2 separate regions of the Homo sapiens genome follow, and region 2 is linked to region 1. Evidence: promoter capture Hi-C in human tissues and cell types (Jung and others, 2019). All regions are on one chromosome and are shown on one strand. Each heading gives the region's core, a stretch centred on a gene start or on the middle of the fragment in contact. The rest is flanking DNA. Distances are from core to core; before and after follow the strand shown. Region 1 holds the start of GHRH (growth hormone releasing hormone). Region 2 overlaps BPI (bactericidal permeability increasing protein).

Evidence for each region. Contacts are between HindIII fragments. The study calls those that stand out against the background at their distance.
Region 2: a fragment that was not itself captured here is called in contact with the fragment with the promoter of GHRH in region 1 in 3 of the 25 tissues and cell types used here (H1 embryonic stem cells, IMR-90 fibroblasts and mesenchymal stem cells).

What each region holds. Positions count from the first base shown.
Region 1 is chr20:37,258,706-37,265,424 of GRCh38, forward strand. GHRH (growth hormone releasing hormone) reads right to left here and starts at 3,109. Exons shown (of 5, transcript NM_021081.6): 1 at 3,038-3,109. RefSeq lists silencers at 6,441-6,560, 6,701-6,719. The HindIII fragment of the contact is 8,848 bases long and covers 915-6,719 here.
Region 2 is chr20:38,330,249-38,336,967 of GRCh38, forward strand. BPI (bactericidal permeability increasing protein) reads left to right here. Exons shown (of 15, transcript NM_001725.3): 12 at 800-842; 13 at 4,182-4,245; 14 at 5,350-5,426. Among named protein-coding and RNA genes, the nearest start is that of LBP, 13 kb to the right of the region's middle. RefSeq lists an enhancer at 4,087-5,286. The HindIII fragment of the contact is 5,423 bases long and covers 604-6,026 here.

The DNA of each region.
Region 1 (6,719 bases), core at 1,859-4,358:
TACCCCCAGGCCCGGGAGCTTATTTCCAGATGGTTCTTTATTTATTTATTTTGAGAGCGGGTCTCACTCTGTGGCCCAGGCTGAGGTGCAGTGGTGCAATCATAGCTCACTACAGCCTCAAACTCCTGGGCTCAAGCAATCCTCCTGCCTCAGCCTCCTGAGTAGCTGGGACAGCAGGCATGTGCCATCATGCCCAGCTAATTTTGAAATTTTTTGTAAAGATAAAGTCTCACTATATTGCCGAGGCTGGTTTCAAACCCCCGGGCTTAAGTGATCCCCCCGCCTCAGCCTCCCAAAGAGTTGAGCTTATAGGCATGAGCCACAATGCCAGGCCCAGGCAGTTCTTATTGTTAGGAAGTTTGTCTCACCATGTCAAGCCCAAATCTCCTTCTCCTGCAAATGTTTGTTAAGCCTCTACTGTTCCGGTAAGGACTGGGGCTAGAGAAAAGATGAGAACACGGGATCTACCCCGAGGGCTGGCTGTGTAACATCCGCCTGCTGGGCTGGAGCCTCTGCACCTACAGCCACACGACTGGTCCTTTAGATATGTTCCGCATGTCTGACTTAAGCTTTTGTTCCTCAGACCAAGGCTCGGCAGGCTTCCGTCCTCCTCATCGCACCATACCACGTCTGGTCCCCCTTCTCCCCACCTGGTCCAGGCTGCCTCTCCAGAAGTGGAATTTCCTAAGCCGAGAGATCTCTGGATGCAAGCAGGGCCCCTTGACAGAAACCACTGCCTTTTCTGTCTCCCAGCTGCAGCCTGGCTTTCTTGCCTTCTTTGCTGCTGATCTTTTAAAGATTCAGGCAGATCTAGGTCCCCAATCACCTCCCTCCCCTGCTCAGAAGCCCTTGGCTCCCCACTCCTTCCAGAATAAAGCTCAAACCCCTTCTCTTGGCTTAAGCTCTCCCTCTGCCTGCCCCTTCTCCCAAGGGCTGGCACAAGTGATTCCCAGCCCCTGTGCCCTATCAGGCTCCACAACCCATCCTTGCACTCTCCCTCTGGAGCAGGCATCCCCATGCTCCTCTTACAGCCAAGGAAAAGAGCCTAGAGAGGACAAGGACATTTTCCATGATCCTCCATCAAATTAGTTTTGGAGTGGGCACTTCAGAGTGGGCCTCCTCATTCCCAGGCCGGCAGACTTCCTTCCGCTCCATGCAGCAGCCTCCCAGGTACAATGCTCTATTCACAGTATTCCCCATTCACAGGGATCCTCAGCCTCCATCACCTGCACGTGGGAAAGGGTCTGAAAAAAAGGAAAGCTTCTTGCTCTTTGTTGTTGGGCCTCTGGGGAAGAAAGAACAGGGACAAACAGGAACACCTGCTTGATTGGCCCCTCCCTATGCACACCCAGTAGTTTCAGGGAGTTGAAACAACCTCATAGGAGGGCAGACTTTGGTGGGGAGGGCAAGTCATAGTAAACACAATACCCCGCTCATTCAAGATAAGGCTCAGCAACTGCACAAGTTAACCAAGAGGCTCAACATTTGCCACAAATCCTGTGCCCCAGGCATAGGTCAAGACCCCACAGCAACCTCTGAGCTATGAGAACCGAATCCATGGGTTTGCAGATCCCACTGGATGAAAATGGGAAACAAGAATTATCCAGTGTAGGGTAAGATAAGAAGAATAGAGGTTATGTCACTAAGGATAAAATAGCTCCAGCCTGAGCAACATGGCGAGACCCCATCTCTACAAAAAAAAAAACACACAAAACAAAACAAAAAAAAACTTATCTAGGCATGGTGGCGCATGCCTGTAGTCCCAGCTACTCTGGAGGCTGATGTGGGAGGATTGCTTGAGCCCGGGAGGTTAAGGCTGCAGTGATCCATGATAGTGCCACTGCACAGTAGCCTAAATGTCAGAGCAAGACCCCATCTCAAAGAATAAAATAAAATAGCTGTCAACAGACACATTCCACATGACAACTTAAGGAGTCAAAATTCACTGAATGAAGTGTAGCCGAGCCCAACAGCATTGCTGGCAACCCTGATGACTGAAGGCACTCCAGAGTTTATAATCTATCATTATGATCATCGGTTAGCTTCCTGCAGTGCTTACTGATTCTGGGATTAGATGTACTTGAGATTGCCTGGATTCAGGATAAACGGGCACTTGATCTACATCCGTTGGCACCTTTTGCCAGCTTTCATGCCAGGAATGCCAGGAGAATTCTGCAGATTCACCTGCAGCTGACAGAGGTCAGGTCTCAAGCACCCAAATTCGCAAGGCCATTTTTGAAAACCCAGGGAAAGAACATCTTTAACCTTCCTTGAATATCCCCCTTTGAAATTTGAGCACCCCAAAGCATAGACTTCCTGATCTGGTTTATAAACTGTTTCAGTGACAGCATTCCAAGTTAAAAGAAATCTAAGTTTTTAATGAGGAAGCATCTTGAACTGTCATTCAAAAGAGTGACACTCCACCTCCTTCCAGAAGGGGTTTGAGGCAGTCTATGGTGAAAGACACAAATACTTCAGGACCATTAAAGCAAGGATCAGGAGACAGGCGTGGGGTAGCGGAGGACTCCAAAGGCAGATAATTGTGTCTAAAACCTGGAGTAAAGAGTGTGGCTGCAATTGAGCAAGAAAGCAAAATGTTATCAATTTCCCGGCAATTACATTGAATCAGTTCTGAGTGATCAATGAGCAGTATTGATTTGCACAGCCACTTGGCTCATCTCTGATCCATGGCAGAATCCCATCGCTGACAGGAAAATCGAGCCAACTCACGTTTGCCCCCGAAGCCTGCCCACGCATCCTCGAAGGAGCACTGAGACCTCACCACCTGCGACAGACACCTGGAGCCAGTCCGCCACGCGCCCAAGTTAAGACAAGCCCCAAACAGCACCATCAAAAGCCTATTCCAGAGCCCCTATTGAGGGGTGATTTTATCCAGAGAGGGGCTCAAATGTACTCACCAGTCCATGGGCAAAGAGGATGGCGGTGGGCCTCTTGGACTCAGTGTTTCTAAGTTGGTGAGAAGGTTAACTTTTCTTACCCCCACCCAGCCTAGCCCCCCCAGGGCCACCCCTCTCACCTGATGCGGCAGATATCCCTCTGCTCCGAGGCACTGCTCAAATCCAGGGGCCCTGGGCTGGGTGTTTGCTCTGGCAGCCGCCTGGCGTTCCCATCATTTATCTCTTCATTTTCCTAAGCGTTGTCAGCGTCAGAGAATCAATTACCCACAAGTCAACCAAAGGACTGTTTTTAGCATCATATCACACTGACAAACCCTGTTGGTGAAAGAGGTTTGGCCCCTTGCAGACTTAGACTCCTGGTAAAGTCTCCTTTTATCTTTGGCACAGTGGACATAGTACAAAGGTGTAACATTATTCCAAGAGGATATAGAGAATATATACTGCTATAATAGTGATTGGAGAACTCGGCTGGGCGCGGTGGCTCACACCTGCCATCCTAGCACTTTGGGAGGCTGAGGCGGGTGGATTGCCTGAGCTCAGAAGTTTGAGACCAACCTGGGCAACATAATGAGACCCTGTCTCTAGAAAAAAATTAAAAATTAGCTGGGCATGTTGGCACATGGGTATAGTCCCAGCTACTCAGGTGGCTGAGGCAAGAGTGTCACCTGAGCCTGGGAGGCGGAGGTTGCAGTGAGCCAAGACCACGCTATGGCACTCCAGCCTGGGTGACAGAGCACGACTCTATCTCAAAATATATATTTTTTAAAAAAAGAAAAAATATGTGTTAAAAATAATTGGAGAACTCATAACAGTGAAACACCAAGAGTTTATTGATTCTCCAAGATAAATGTGCCTTTTCAAAAGTTCATATAATTTAGCTTTGTCCCTGTGTAATTTTATTTCACTTTTGGGTAGACAACATTATGAATAAGCGTTATTCTCTCCTTAGTGGGGAATTTGTTCCCTATCTCCCTTGTCGTCCAATTATCAGAATTCTGCACTATTTGATTTACACCTGCTTGGTCACAGGCTGATTTCAACAGCTAGCCTGGGGGCATCCGTCGTCACCTGTCAAGGCAGCCAGACATTGGCAGTTGCCTCAGAGAAGTGTGAAATGAGAGGGAAGAGATGGAAAACCTTGGGAGAGTTGTTGTGTTTCCAGATTTCTCTAGCCTATAGCTAAGAAATCCTCAGGAATGACATAAAAGCACAGGAGGCAGAAGCTCTGGTTTCCCAGGCGGCCGTCGTGGAGGTGTGGAAAGAGCTCCAAGCCTCGAGTCTAGGGACCTGCTGCCTCTCCCAAGCCTGTCAATCATGACCTCTGTGACCCTTAGGAAGTTACTTCTACCTGGCTGGGTGCAGTGGCTCACACCTGTAATCCCAGCACTTTGGGAGGCTGAGGCGGGTGGATCATGAGGTCAGGGGTTCGAGACCAGCCTGACCAACATGGTGAAACCCCGTCTCTACTAAAAATACAAAAATTAGCTGGGTGTGGTAGTGGGCACCTGTAATCCCAGCTACTCAGGAGGCTGAGGCAGGAGAATTGCTTGAACCCGGGAGGTGGAGGTTGCAGTGAGCCGAGATCGTGCCACTGCACTCCAGCCTGGGCGACAGAGCGAGACTCTGTCTCAAAAAAAGAAAAAAAACTTCTACCCTCCGGGCCTCAGTTTCTACCTGGAAACTTGAGAGTTGACATAGAACAGCAACTTTCAAACTATTTTTTTGAGAGGGATCCTATCTTTGCCACCCAGGTTGGAGTGCAGTGGCATAATCTCGACTCATTGCAACCTCCACCTCCCGGGTTCAAATGATTCTCCTGCCTTAGCCTCCAGAGTAGCTGGGATTACAGGTGCGTACCACCACGCCTGGCTAAGTTTTGTATTTTAGTAGAGATGGGATTTCACCATGTTGGCCAGGTTGGTCTCAAACTTCTGACCTCAGGTGATCCACGTGCTTCTGCCTCCCAAAGCACTGGGATGACAGGTGTGAGCCACCACACCCAGCCCAAACATTTTTTAAAAAGTAGCAAAACTCTTTCTTTGGAAACCTACAGAGACAGGTTTTTAATATGGGGCTACTCTGGTTGAAGAGGGGGAAGTGGAGACCCCCTTGCCTATCCCTGAGGTACCTCGATGGGTCACAATTACAAGCCAGTAATTTCCAAGAGTCCCCTTAGCAACACTATTTTGTGGTTCTCCTTCTTAGCCTGCACTGAGCCATGTTCTTGGCATCTAGCAAATATGAGATGTTTCTCATAGAAGCAAGGCTTGAGTGGTATGTCACCTTGCTGGCCAGGATACGAAGTGGTCAGGTCAGGCCAGATCCCCAAGGATTAAGAATGGGCTGATAGTGGCCAGGTGCGGTGGCTCATGCCTGTAACCCCAGCACTTTGGGAGGCCGAGGCAGGCGGACTGCCTGAGCTCAGGAGTTCGTGACCACTCTGGGCAACATGGTGAAACCCCGTCTCTACTAAAATACAAAAAAATTAGCTGGGTGTAGTGGCATGTGCCTGTAATCCCAGCTACTGGGGAGGCTGAGGCACAAGAATAGCTTAAGCCCCAGAGGCAGAGGTTGGTGTGAGCCGAGATGGCGCCGCTGCACTTCAGCTTGAACAACAGAGTGAGACTCTGTCTCAAAAAAAAAAATAAATAAAAACAGGGCGTGGTGGTTCACGTCTGTAATCCCAGCACCTTGGGAGGCTGAGGCGGGCGGCTCACGAGGTCAGGAGATCGAGATCATTCTGGCTAACATGGTGAAATCCCGTCTCTATTAAAAATACAAAAAATTAGCCGGGCGTGGTGGTGGGTGCCTGTGGTCCCAGCTACTCGGGAGGCTGAGGCAGAAGAATGGCTCAGGACCCAGGAGGCGGAGCTTGCAGTGAACCAAGATGGTGCCACTGCACTCCAGCCTGGGTGACAGAGTGAGACTCCGTCTCAAAAAAATAAATAAAATAAATAAATAAATAAAAATAAAAATAAAAATAAATGGGTTGATAGCTTTAAATTAATTATTATTATTATTATTTTATTTACTTAATTTTTTGGAGACAGGGTCTCGCTCAGGCTAGAGTGTAGTGGTGAGATCTCAGCTCACTGCAGCCTTGACCTCCTAGGCTCAAGCAGTCCCCAACCTCAGCCTCCTGAGTAGCTGGGACTGCAGTTGCACGCCACCATGCCCAGCTAATTTTGTTTATTTTTAGTAGAGATGAGATCTCACTATGTTGTCCTGGCCAGAACTCAAATATTATTTAAAAAAAAAAAGTGCAGGTCACAGCAGCAGGGAGCAGACGAAGCAGTTGGGAGCCCCAGGGCTATGGGCTCTCGCACAGTCAGGAAGTGTGGGGTAACTCCTGGAAATGCAAAGTGGGGACCATGCAGAGCTGGGCACCCAGAGTGGACGCTGGTCCAGGGCACAGATGCAGGTTACATGGAGTTGGCCGGAGAAGCCATGGGGCTCAGAATCCAGCCTCGGTTGAAACTCTGTGCCAGGCATTGTGCTACAGACTTCACGCCCTATCTCAGTTTTCTTATTTGTAAAATGGGAGTGATAGAGCTCAACTTATGAGGCTCTTGGGTGAGAATTATTGTGACATTGCATAAAGGGCAGACCTGGCATAGGGCAGAGCTCACAATTTAGCTTTGATAATTGCTGTTCTTGTCATTGCGGTAAATGAGGAAACAGGCATGAAAGGTTACGTGCTCAGCCACAGCCACAGAGCTAGTCAGTAGCTGGAAGAGCTATGACTCAAACATGTTTTCTGACTTCCTTACAGCCCCAGCTACTCAGGAGGCTGAGGCAGGA
Region 2 (6,719 bases), core at 2,065-4,564, 1.1 Mb after region 1:
GAAAAAAAAAAGCAAACCGTGCTTTGCTAATTGTTAGCTGTGTGACCTTGGACCATTGTTTGATCTCTGAGTATGTTTCCTCATCTGTAAAAATGAGAGTAATGGCCCTTGCCTCTTGTAATGTTACTGGTATTCAGTGGGATAGAGCGCCCAATACAGCTAATGAATGGTTGGGGTTCAATAAACAGCCATATGTTCCCCCCTTCCTCTGAGATCACTGTTAAAAATGTCATAAAGGCCTTAAAGGGAAAATAGTATATTGGCTCAGGTAACTGAAAAATCCAAGGCTTTCAGTCAAGGAAAGACCCAGGTGCTCAAATGATATCCTTAGGAATCTGTCTCCATCTCTTGGCTTTGCTATCCTCTGTGCTGGCTTCATTGCCCAGCAGGCTGTCACCAAGTGGTGGCAAAATAGTCACCAGGAGCTTCCTTATTTTCCCAGAGAAAAGAGAATACCTTATTCCCAATATTCCCAGCAGAAGTCCTGGGACTGACTTTCATTGGGCCAGCATAGGTCAGAGGTACATCCTTGCAGCAATGACTGTAGCAGAAGAAGTGGACTATGCCCTTTGGTCAGCATGGCCCAGAGCTCAGTGTGGGGTCAACGGCACTAACAATGCAGGGAATGTGTGAATTCTCCAAAGGCAACATCGGGGGGCTGTGACCCGTGGAAGGGGAGTGGATACTGGGTGGGAAAACCAGACAGTATCCACCAGAGTGGGTCTCTCCTCTCTAGAGACTGGGTTCTCATGCTAGTCAGGCAATTGGTGGTCTCAGTCCCCTCCTCCCCCTCTCACAGGCTGCTCCTGGAACTGAAGCACTCAAATATTGGCCCCTTCCCGGTGAGTCTGAGGCCCTTGGTGGCTTCTTCCTCCTTCTGACCTGGCGGCGGGGAGGGGGACATGTCATAGGCTCAAGGCATTATTTAAGAGGCTACTGGCTCATTTGCATTTAATTTGGTTGTGAATTAATAGTTCAAGGAGCTTCGTGGGCAGAGGGACCTGAGCCAGAATCCCTGCTCCATACTTACTAACTGTGAGGCCTTGGGCAAGTCACTTCCCTTTTCTGAACTCCAGACCTTCCCCACCTGAGTGAGTGTAGTATGGTTTAAATGGGATTAAACATGCACAATCTGGTAGAGAAAATCTGCTCAACAAATGTTTGTTGGATGAACAAATGAATTACTTTATTGAGCACCTATTATGTGCCAAGTACTCTTCCAAGTATGGGGTAGGCTGATGCATCAGACAGGGAAGTGATGCCTTCTCAGAGCCTTACATGGCAGTGGGAAGACAGCACAATAAGAAATGAAAGGCCAGGCATGGTGGCTCATGTCCATAATCCCAGCACTTTGGGAGGCTGAAGCAGGAGGACTGCTTGAGGTTAGGACTTCAAGACCAGCCTGGGCAACATAGCAAGACCTCATCTCTTATAAAAAATAAAAATTAGGTGGGTGTGGTGGCATGCACATGTAGTCCCAGATACCTGGGAGTCTGAGGCAGGAGGATGGCTTCAGCCCGGGAGTTCCAGGTTACACAAGCTAAGATCATGCTACACTGCACTCCAGCCTGTGTGACAGAGTGAAATCTTGTCTCAAAAAAAAAAAAAAAAAGAGAGAGAAGATCGTTTCAGTCACAATCAAAGCTATAAAAACCAAAGCGGGGATGGGCGGAAAGTGATGAGGGAGAATGAAGAGTCAGAAGATGTGATCAGGGAGGGCCTCTCCGAGGAGGTGACGTTTGGACTGAAGGAGGAGAAGGAGCCAGCAGAGGAAACAGCAGGGGCAAAAGCCCTGTGGTAGAGACAAGCTTGGTGCGTTTGGGGAATGAAGGGAGCCTGTGTGTCTGGAGCAGAGCAAGTAGGGGGCATCGGAAGAGATGTGGCCAGAGGGGCAAGCACAGGCTAGCTCATCCAGGGTCTTCCGGGCTGAGCTAGAGGAGGGGAGATTGTTGTGTTGCACAGGCAGTGAGAAGCCGGTGCGCTGTTTCCCTGCAGGGAGTGCTGTGAGTCTATTTATACCTTTGTAAAAGCTTCCCCTGGCTGGGGTGGGGGGATAGATTACAGACAAGGGGTCATTGAGGAGGCTGGTGTGTTTGTCCACGTGAGATGCTGGAGGTTGGGACTCAGCCAGGCAGAAGAGAAAGATGGTGGATTGGAGATATATTTTGGAAGTAGATTTAGAGAGACCTTAGTGAGAGATATGAGCCTCTTTTATAAAGTGCATTTAAATATTTAATGAATATTTTGCACACCTTCTTTTGCACCCAGCACCATACTAGGCACAGTGGGGTATAACATGTGGTCAATGTCTGGCAGATTTAGACACAGCACAGAAGCCTCCCTCATGGCTGTGTGGTGAGGGAAAGGATTGTCCAGGTGACTTCTAGGGTTTTGGGTGGAGCAGTTGGATGAATGGCAGAGCTACGTACTGACATGGAGAAAGGGCTGGTAGGAGAGGGAAGAGCAGGGAGAAACCCAGCTCAAGTAGGTGGTTCGCCTGCCCAGGAATCACTGCTCATCATTAAGTAGATTTGCCGCTACTGCCCTCACGAGGGGCATTGATGACGAGTTGCCCCTGTTAGTAGTAAGTAGTCGCCCATGCTGTTCAACACCAGCCACACAGAGCACCTGCCCTGTGTCTAACGTCAGAAGCTGCAGTCTGCTGATCCTGTCCAGCGTCTTGCTACATTGACCTGAATCTCCTGGTGGGCTCTGGTTGAATCCCAGTTTCTGCTGCTCTGGAGAACATTTCCTTAGATTCCCGAGATGCCCCCAAGTTCCCCACCAAGTGAGTGCCTTGTAAGCCCTCCAACCCCAAAGTCATACCGTCCCAGTGTCCCCTTCAAATCTGATAAAAATCCAGCCAGCCATTTCTACCAAATGAGATTCCAAATGAAAGGACCAAATGCAACCTCACTGTATTTTCATGGACTTACTGGTTCCAAGGCTTTCTTGGTGGCTTGACTAAGTCCATAACTAATTTCTACTTCTGTAGAAACTAGAAATTTTAAGTTCCCAGGATTCATAGGAAGGAGGGCACTGCATTTGGTGAGGCCAGGGAATAACAGGCCAGGAAAAGAGACTCAGTTGTTCCAGAAACAAAAATGTATATATTTACAAATTGTAAATGTCACAACTACAGGCAAGCATCTTGAGGGTTTTACACTATTTTTAATTTTTTTTATTATTGCCAAAGAAAAATATATGCACTATAGGGCAATCAGAACCTACAGATTTGCAAAAGAAAGAAAATAAAAACCATGCATATTTTCATCACTTAGTTAATAATTTGGAGTATATCCTTCCTGACCTTTTGCTATGCCTATTTAATTAAAAAATGGAATGATGTGATTTCTATAGCCTGGTTCTCCTCACTCAAAAACATATCATGGTTATGTCTGTGTTGTTACTTACATTTCTACAATATCATTCTTAACAGTTGCATAATATTTCCTTGTATTAAAGTATTACCATTTTCCACCAAGTGATTCCCCTATTGTTGGACATGGAGATTGCTTTTAATTTATTGTTTTGGATAAATTTGTTGCTTTGGTCAACATTCTTGCATCCACATTTTTTCCTACACCCTACATTATTTCCTTAGGATAAATTCCTCAGAGGCATGTTTGCTAGCCCAAAAGGCACACGGGTCTTGCTGTGTTGCCCAGGCTGGTCTTGAACTCCTCCTGGTCTCAAGTGATCTTCTCGCCTCAGCCTCCCAAAGCACTGCTGTTACAGTCATGAACCACCAAGCCCAACCAGGCACACACAGGCTTTGGAAGAACATTGTGCCAAATAGCCGTCAAAGAGGTTGATTTGATTTGCCCTCTTACTGCAGTGTCTGAGAGGACTCATTTTTTAAGCTAAGCTTTTCCCATTTAAATACTCTCTGATGAGCTTCCTCATGATTGTCGTGAGTTGTAAGGCCTTGCACCTTACAATTGAGAACATGCTTTACATCTGGAACCATTGGAGCAAAAGAAACCACTTCCATGACCTTGATTGGGCTGCCAAGTATTCACATATCACTTGCGTCCACCTCTCAGCAGTTTTCCCAACTGCGCGGTTGCTGAGCAGCGCTAGGGGAAAGGAGGGTGACAGAGGTGGGGTGATGAGGACTGCTGGACCCGCAAGGTTCTGGCGATGCAGGGCCATCCTCCCATCCTCCCTCTGATTTCCAGGTTGAATTGCTGCAGGATATCATGAACTACATTGTACCCATTCTTGTGCTGCCCAGGGTTAACGGTAAGGAACTTTGAAGAAACCATTCATTTTCAGTCATGGGGGAAGAGGGTGGGGTTGATTACCCACAGCCACCTGTTACCTGGCCCCAGGTATGAGGGCTGGGCAGTGGTGATGTCAAGTGAACTTCAAATGGCATCTGACCCAGAAATGAATGCAACAAAAAGGAACTCACATGAGTTGACTTACTACACATGGGTTGATTCATTATTGCGTGAGTTTGTCCTTACAAAACCCCCATGAGATGAAGGATTATTAACATCTCCAACTTTTATGGCAGGAAGCGGAAGAACAGAATGGTTTAGTGACTTAGGTCACAGAGCAGGCAAGAGATGGGGCATGGGTTTGATCCTAGCAGTGAAAACAAAGCCCATGGTCTCTTTCCAACTTTGGAAGCAGGATGAGGGGGTTCCCTGATAACCCCTCCCAGAGCTTAGATCACCACGCTGGTAAGAGCTTCAGGCAGGCCGGCCCCTGACCTTTGAGAGTGAGGGGCAAAAGTACTAATAGAGGCCCATATAACCTGTGACTAGGATATTTAGAACTTACCAATTAATCCAACAAATTATCATATGAAATATGATACATCAGTCCTGGGATCTGTCCTCCTACCTTGACAAATGTAGCTTTGTAATGACCTGGGAGGCCACGTTCTAATTTAGAGTTCTCCAAAGTTCCGTGTCAGAATGTGGCAGTATGTGGGGGGCTTGCCCTGGCCACTGTCCACCTCTGGCTTTATCCTAAATGTTGAGGGGTTTCATGCTCACATGCATAAATACCCCTATTACACACCACGCTCTAGTCACACCATTGCAAGCAGCAGATTTTTGGTTTAGTGTATACCAGCAGTGCTGCACCCTCAGGAGGGCCATCATGGGGATGGAGTCCACGCAGGTGCTAGAAGTGGACTTGGGGTTGATGGACAACAGGTGGGAGGTACGGACTCTGGGGCAGCCTTCCTTTCAGGCATGTATGCCCATGCCAGTCCCTACCTAGGGCCAGGCATGCTGGTTCAGGGAGGCTGTCTACCCAGGCTCTCTGGCCCTCCCTCCTCCCCTGCCCTTCTCTTTCTTTTCTCCTGGTCCTCACCATCGGTCTCTGTCACAGAGAAACTACAGAAAGGCTTCCCTCTCCCGACGCCGGCCAGAGTCCAGCTCTACAACGTAGTGCTTCAGCCTCACCAGGTGAGTCCCGGAGTCTTTTCCACAAATCTCCCCTAACGATAGTGACCAACAGCAGCCTATGGCTGCAATGCTTCCTGCATGCCAAGCCCTGTGTGAAGCGCCTTCTACCCTTACAACAACTCTGGGATGTGGGTGCTGTTAAAAAACAAAGAAAGACCAAGGTTCAGAAAAGCCACACAGTGTTAAATGAAGTCCAGATTCAAAGCCAGGCTCCCGGCTTTGAACCATCACTGCATCGTTCCCACGCTACACTCGGCAAAAATGAAATGCATTTGTGGGCCAAAGAGCCTCTTTTTTAAGGTGCATTTAAATATTTAACGAATATATGTTGCACACCTTTTGCACCCAGCATCATACTAGGCACTGTGGGGTATAACATGTGGTCGACGTCTGGCAGATTTAGACACAGCACAGAAGTCTCCTTCGTGGCTTTCGCCCAGGCTGACTTCCGTCTGCATTTGACACTGATGCGCTTCCTGGGCATGCTTTCTTCTCTTAGTTTCCAGCACTCCCCTAGCTCTTGGTTGTCTACCTGCCACCTCCTCTGCTTGTTCTCCTGCCCCTTCTCTGCAAGCTGGAGATCTCCAGGACCCCTCCCCAGGCCTCTTCTCTTCCCCCGCCATTGGCAAGCCTTCGTCACTCTTGTCAACCTCTTCAGGCTTAGCTGCCACCTGCGTGCCACCCAATGTCCCAGACATGCTTCCAGTCTTTTTATTTTTTCCAAACTCTCAGCTTGTGCATTCGCAGGCTCCCTCAATGTCTCCACCCTGAGGCCTCTTAAACCCAGCATGTCCCCACAAAGCTGTCACCTCCGCAGCGAAACCGTCACCCAGCTTGCATTTCTCACCTTGGTCAAAGGCTTTCCTGATAACTTGTGGCCCTCCTGGGGAGCCTCGCATCACCCAGATCCCTCCCTCTCCCTTTCCCCCAATGTCCAGGCCATCAATCCTCAATTCTTTAGACCAGGGAGCTAATTAATGGGGCTGAGAGACTGTAGAAAAATAACCAAGAGTGCAGAGGAAACACATACCGCATATTCCTCACATTTTACCAAGTTCGTGTTTTAAAAAAAATGACCCATGGCACAATTTAATTTCTTCATTTCTAAAAATCCTGAGTGAAGGACACAAAGAAGCAGAGAGAAGTGGTTTTGCAGCCTTGATTGGAACAAGCACTCCCTTGAGCTGCCATGAGGCAGGGACGACAAATGAAGGCCTCTAAAACAGCCCGGGGGGTCTCCGTGTCTAAGAAGGAGGCAGCTTCCAGGGAAGCTGCTGACAGATTCGCAGATGT